Regions from separate parts of the Homo sapiens genome. Here region 2 is linked to region 1. Evidence: promoter capture Hi-C in 16 types of primary human blood cells and fetal thymus (Javierre and others, 2016). All regions are on one chromosome and are shown on one strand. Each heading gives the region's core, a stretch centred on a gene start or on the middle of the fragment in contact. The rest is flanking DNA. Distances are from core to core; before and after follow the strand shown.

The links. The method cuts DNA at HindIII sites, captures the fragments that hold promoters and counts their contacts. A CHiCAGO score of 5 or more calls a contact.
Region 2: a fragment that was not itself captured here is called in contact with the fragment with the promoter of PCDH7 in region 1 in 1 of 17 cell types (M2 macrophages); the score reaches 5.3 in M2 macrophages.

Annotation. Positions count from the first base shown.
Region 1 is chr4:30,719,027-30,721,726 of GRCh38, reverse strand. It overlaps PCDH7 (protocadherin 7), which reads right to left and starts at 1,358. Exons shown (of 3, transcript NM_001173523.2): 1 at 1-1,358. The coding sequence starts at 304. It overlaps LOC124900844, which reads left to right and starts at 2,606. Exons shown (of 1, transcript XM_047416545.1): 1 at 2,606-2,700. RefSeq lists an enhancer at 1-549. The HindIII fragment of the contact is 9,617 bases long and covers 1-2,700 here.
Region 2 is chr4:35,927,229-35,929,928 of GRCh38, reverse strand. No RefSeq gene overlaps it. Among named protein-coding and RNA genes, the nearest start is that of ARAP2, 320 kb to the left of the region's middle. The HindIII fragment of the contact is 5,644 bases long and covers 1-2,700 here.

The DNA.
Region 1 (2,700 bases), core at 109-2,608:
TCATCTGACACTGGGGCAGCTTCTCGCGGTCGATGCGCCGCTCGCTCGTGCTCAGCTCGCCAGTGAGGTTGTCGATCTTCAGGTACTCGGAACCGGACTCCAGGCTGAAAGTCACCTCACCCGATCCGGTCACGATGCCCAGGTCTGAAGCCACGTTGCCGATGCGGACGTCGGCGGGGCCCTCCTCGGCCAGCCGGTACCGGAGGAGCTGCTTGGCGGCCGCCAGGCTGAGCGAGAGCGGCAGGAGGAGGCAGCAGCCCAAGCACCAGCCGCGCGCCCATCCCGCGGTCCGCATCCTCAGCATCTTCTCCTGCTGCTGCTGCTACTGCTCCTTCTAACCACAGCCCCCTCGGCGCCCCCCTCCTCCGGGGCCGGCCGCCTGCCCTCCCCCGAGTCCTCTCCCCTCTCCCGGAAAGGAAGGAGCGAGAGGGAGGGGAGGGAGGGGGCAAAAGCGGCGTGGAGAGTTGGCCGGGAATGGGGGTGGGAGGGCAGCGATAGATGCTTCTTTTTTTCCTCCTGCTTCTTCCGAAAGTTATTGTTTCATAATTCATGCAATGGGTGCTAATCGCCCGCTCGCCTGCCGCCGTTCAGTCGCAGTACTCACAGTTCACGGGACACTGCGCGCCGCGGGTTCGGCGCTCCCCCAACCCAGAGTCATCCCCTCAGCGGGCGGAGAATCCCCGGCTCTAGTCCCCGCTCTGTCGGAAGGGGCCAGAACCGCTCCGGCAGACGGGCAGTGGGGCTGGGAAGAGGTGGGGAATGAGCCTGCAGCCTCCCCCGCCTGCCAGCCCGCTGGTCTTTGCTGCTACTCGAGTTGAGTCCAATTCACGTTCCAGGCACTCACTCCAAACCCAGGCTCTGCTCCGGCTCCGGCCACCCAGACAAACGTGAGTCGCTTCCTGCACCAGGCGCTGGGGCCAGCAACAAGCCAGTCTCAACTCCGACTCTGCTCATGCAGCGGGGGAGCCAGTCAACAGATCGAGAATGAAAAATCCCCCGGCACGTCGCTTCGGGCACGGTGCAGGGGAGACTACTCGCGTCACAGAGCGGTCAGTGTCAGGGTCCCCCCGGCGCGCCAAAGAGAAGCCCGAGCCATCTTCAGAGACGCCCAGAGTCAGTCCCTTCTCACCCCGGAGAGCGCGGGTTTCTCTTTTTTCTTAACAACTCTGCGCAAGGTCATTAGTCACGAAGCAGCCGCCTGAAACCGCAGCAGCCTTTCGCCCACGGGGGCGAAGGCTGAGCAGTGCGCACCGTGCGGTGCCCAAGTTTGGGTTCGCAGCCGCAGAGTCCGTGCCTTTTCTCACCTGCATTCGGCCCGCATGTCGGAGCAGTGGGATCTGCAGCGCTGTGCGCGATTCAGGGAGGAGATTGCAGCCTCTCTCTCCCCGCTCTCTCTCGATCCCTCCCCTCCCTCCCTCCCTTTCTCTCTCCTCCCTCCTCTCTCTCCTCCCTCCTCTCCTTTCCCCTTTCCCCCTCTCCCACTCGCTCTCTTGCACGCTCTCTCTCCTTCCCAATGCAGGGAACTCAAGCTGAACTTGATCCCTTTGCAGTTCAAAGGTGAGCAAACCAGGCTCGGAGCACAGGCGACGTTAGCCGGCGAAAGCGCACGGCCGGGCGTCCCCAACGGCAATTAACAAAGATGCCCAATTCTGTCTGGATTTCCGAAGAAAAGCCAAAGGCTTTCGGGCGGGGGTGGAGGGGGAGGTGGAGTCAGAGACAGCTGCCAAGTAGCTTAAAAAAAAAAATCCAGTTTGCCAAGGGGAGAAAAAGTGTCAGTCGGTTGTGGCCTCGGAAGTGCCCTGGCACGGCTGGTGAATTCCGCAGTTGTCTCGTCCCTTTTCGCGTCTGGGAGAGTCTGGTGCGGGCGCTCCCGCCGCCCCTCGGGCTGCAGCGGCTCGGAGACACTGAACCGCTAGTGGGAATCTCCCGTTCGCTACCCGCGAGCAGGAAACCCGCAAGTTGCCCAAAGTGGTGGTTGCTGCTGGGTGCTCGCTCGCTCACGGATCAGGCTTGTCCCTGACGCTGCTGCTGCAGCGGCGGCGGCAGTAGCAGCCGAGCCGCCGAAACTACACACTAGGAGAGAGCGAGGGAGGAGGGCCCGGGATAAGGAGGCGGGAGGGAGCGTCAGCCAGCCGCCGCGCTCGGGAAAGCCCAGCCTCAGCTCCAGGGGCCGCTCAAAGTGTGCCCAATCCCAGCCAGTCCTCTTTAAGCCAAAGCCCAGTCCCCCTCCCTAGCGAGTACCGCCGTCTTCTCTGGGGGACTTGTTTTCCCTCCCTCGGGCTGGTAAATTTCCTCCTCCCTTGACTAATGCCCAGTTCACGCGTGAGAGCTTTCGGAGCTGGTGTCAGGATAGGTTTCTCCTTCTCCCTCCCTCTCAGACGACGTCCTCCTCCCCCCGGAAAGTGTCTCCGGTTCGCGATTTAGGATCTTGGTTAGGACATGGTTATCGGGGTCCTGGGGAACCTACGAGCGCCCAGAAAGCCACTCTGTTCTGAAAAACCATGACGGGCTGCAGTAGTGAAGAGAGAACATCAAACTCCAGAGAGCTGGAGAAAGATCCTTTTTTGGGAGCTCAGACTTTGGATGGTTGCGGGGGGCAGGGGCGGCGGTGGGTGGAGGGTGAAGGATGTCTGTCTTTGTTTAAATGCTTGACATTCCTGTCGTCGTGCTTGCTTGCGGGGGTAGACCGTGTGTGCGCGC
Region 2 (2,700 bases), core at 70-2,569, 5.2 Mb before region 1:
TTTTTTTTCTTTCTGTCCCACTCTTTTCCTACTTTTCCTTTCTGTTAAAGTTTTTTGGTAACTGCTTTTTAAAAAATATTTCCTTCTAGTTTACATTTTCCGAAAGCAAATTGAGAAAGCCAAATACACACACATACACATGCACACAAACACAACTTTTAAACAGCTATGATGTGCTTTAAGAAAAAGACAAGTCATACCATACACACACACAATTGCCCTAGAAGAAGCCTTTTGATTGAAAAGAAAACATTTTTAACTGCATCTTCAGGGTCAACAGATAGAAATAATACTTTTGTGAGAGAAAAGCTGAGTACAAGAGGCTACTTCAGAGAAGAATCGTCACTTTTCTTTTTCTTCATCGTCTAGATGGAGAATATAAATTCTTCAGTTCATTTGTTCTTCTTAGTCCAGTTAATGTTGTTAATAGAGTGAAATCTCCAAGAAAATCACAGTCTAAATATATATGAAGGTTTAGAAACTAATGAATAACTTTTGAGTATGCTCTGATAAAAATTGATCACATCCGATAGCCTGAGTTTCTATGCTCTCTAGGGCTTTTTGAAGTTCTCTTTAACATAGAGTTCTTCTCTTTGGCTTCTCACACACTTGTTTTCTACTTTTCTTTCCATGGCTTTAAAAAACAACATATCCTTTTCCTGTTATCTTTCTCTCCGCTTTCCTGTGAAAATAAGTGAGATACACTTCTCCCACCCATGTTATTTTCATTTAATTCCCAACTAAATTTTTTCCAATGTATGGACAGAAAAAAATGTCATGCTCTAGCAATAAACCACAGGAGAGTGATTTGTAAATTTCTCTAAGGCTCCAATCTTAGCCTCCTCTCCTATGATATACAAATAAGTGTAATATCTGCTTATCTTCTTCAAGGTTTGGGAAAGAATGGAACATGATCAGCTTCATATATGGGGGAAGTATGAATGTTAGTTATGTACATTTTCCTTAGTATCCTGGTTTTACATAAAAAAGGTTTGAAGTAAAGTACATGTTGACTTCATCACATTAATTTCTCTAATAACATTTGTCATTTTACTTATTTGTTTCATATGTTCAGGATATACTTTAATGAAAAGCAAAAAATGTCACGTTAAAGATTGCCAACTCTCTAGTCAGTGATGTCAAACTTTAATATGAGTGACGATTTTCTGAGATACCTGTTAAAAGTAGGTTCTTAGGTCCAGCTTGCAAAACTTTTTTATGGAGTAATTCCAGGTAGTATCAAGGTACACGCATTTTTAACAAGGTCCCCAGGTGATCTCTAGGCCATCTAGGAACCCCACTTTGACTAAATGCTGCTTGAATCTTGGTCTATTGAACTCTGCCAGTGTTGTTTTAGTCCATGTGCTTTGGAATCAATGGGGCCAGAGTTTGAAACCCTGCTTCATCACCTTCTATCTGAATAACTCAGGCGGATTGCTGAACTTCTCTGAGTCTCTTTGTCTGTATTAGTTTCCTAGGGTTGCCATTACAAACTTCCACAAATTGGGTGGACTTGAAACAAGAGAAGTGTACTCTTTCCCAGTTCTGGAGGCTAGAAGTCTGAAATCAATGTGTCAGCAGGACCATGTTCCCTCTGAAGGCTCTCTCCTTGCCTCCTCTAGCTTCCAGTGGCTCTGGGCAGTCCTTGGCGTTCCTCGGCTTGTAGCTGCATCACTCCAGTCTCTGCCTTCGTCTTCTCATGGCTTTCTTCTCTCCGTCTGTCTCCTTTTTTTATATGTATGTGTGCCCTCTCCTCTTCTGATGCTTACACCAGTCATTAGATTTAGCGTCCATCCTCATCTAGTGTAATCTCATTTTAATTACATCTGCAAATACCTTATTTCCAAAAATGGTTACATTGTAAGGGTCTGGTTGGATAAGAATATTGCGGGACACTATTCAGTACACTACAGTGTCCCTGCATTAAGAAGAATCATTATGATAGCATTTTGAAGCATCTAGTTAGTACCTGGTAGTAGATGCTCAGTAAATAATAGCTTTTCTTTCTTTGTGAGTATAGCTTAACCATTGGGTCTCAAAAACAAGTCTGCAGGCAAGGAATAACTGCATGAGATTCTCTATGGGAGCTTTTGAAAAATATAGATTCTAGGTATTTCTTGTGGGTTACTGCTATTCAACAAACCTGGAGTGAGGCCCAAGAAGCTGTATTTTTTAAAGGTTAGCCAGGTTATTCTGATATACATCTAGGCTCAGGAATTTTTTTTTTTTTAAGTCTGAGTATCTCATTGTATTGCTCAGGATGGAATGGAACAATTTATTTGACTAAGAATTTATATTTCATTCATAGAGCTGGAACTCAAAGGTATCTCATTTGCAAAAAAATTGCATAAAATTCTAAATATGTACTTCTTATAACCTACATTTGTCTACTAAAAGATGATGATAAAGTTCAATCAAAATTTTAAAGAGATGCAAAGGCTGTACACAGTTGTAATACTTGGGAATAGAATCTTACCATTCTGATTCCAGTTTCAAATTTCAAGGAAAGTCTTTCTTTTCTTGATTATGGGCTTAAATAAAACTAAATATGAATAGAAGAAAATTATAATAAGGGCCAAATATTATGAGTTTCACTTTCTCAAATCATTGTTTTCTTCTGCAAGTTCTGGCCATTTTTCATTGAGCTAATGAAGCCTCATATTTATTTCTTCCATCTCCCTTCTACTGAAGTCATTTTTA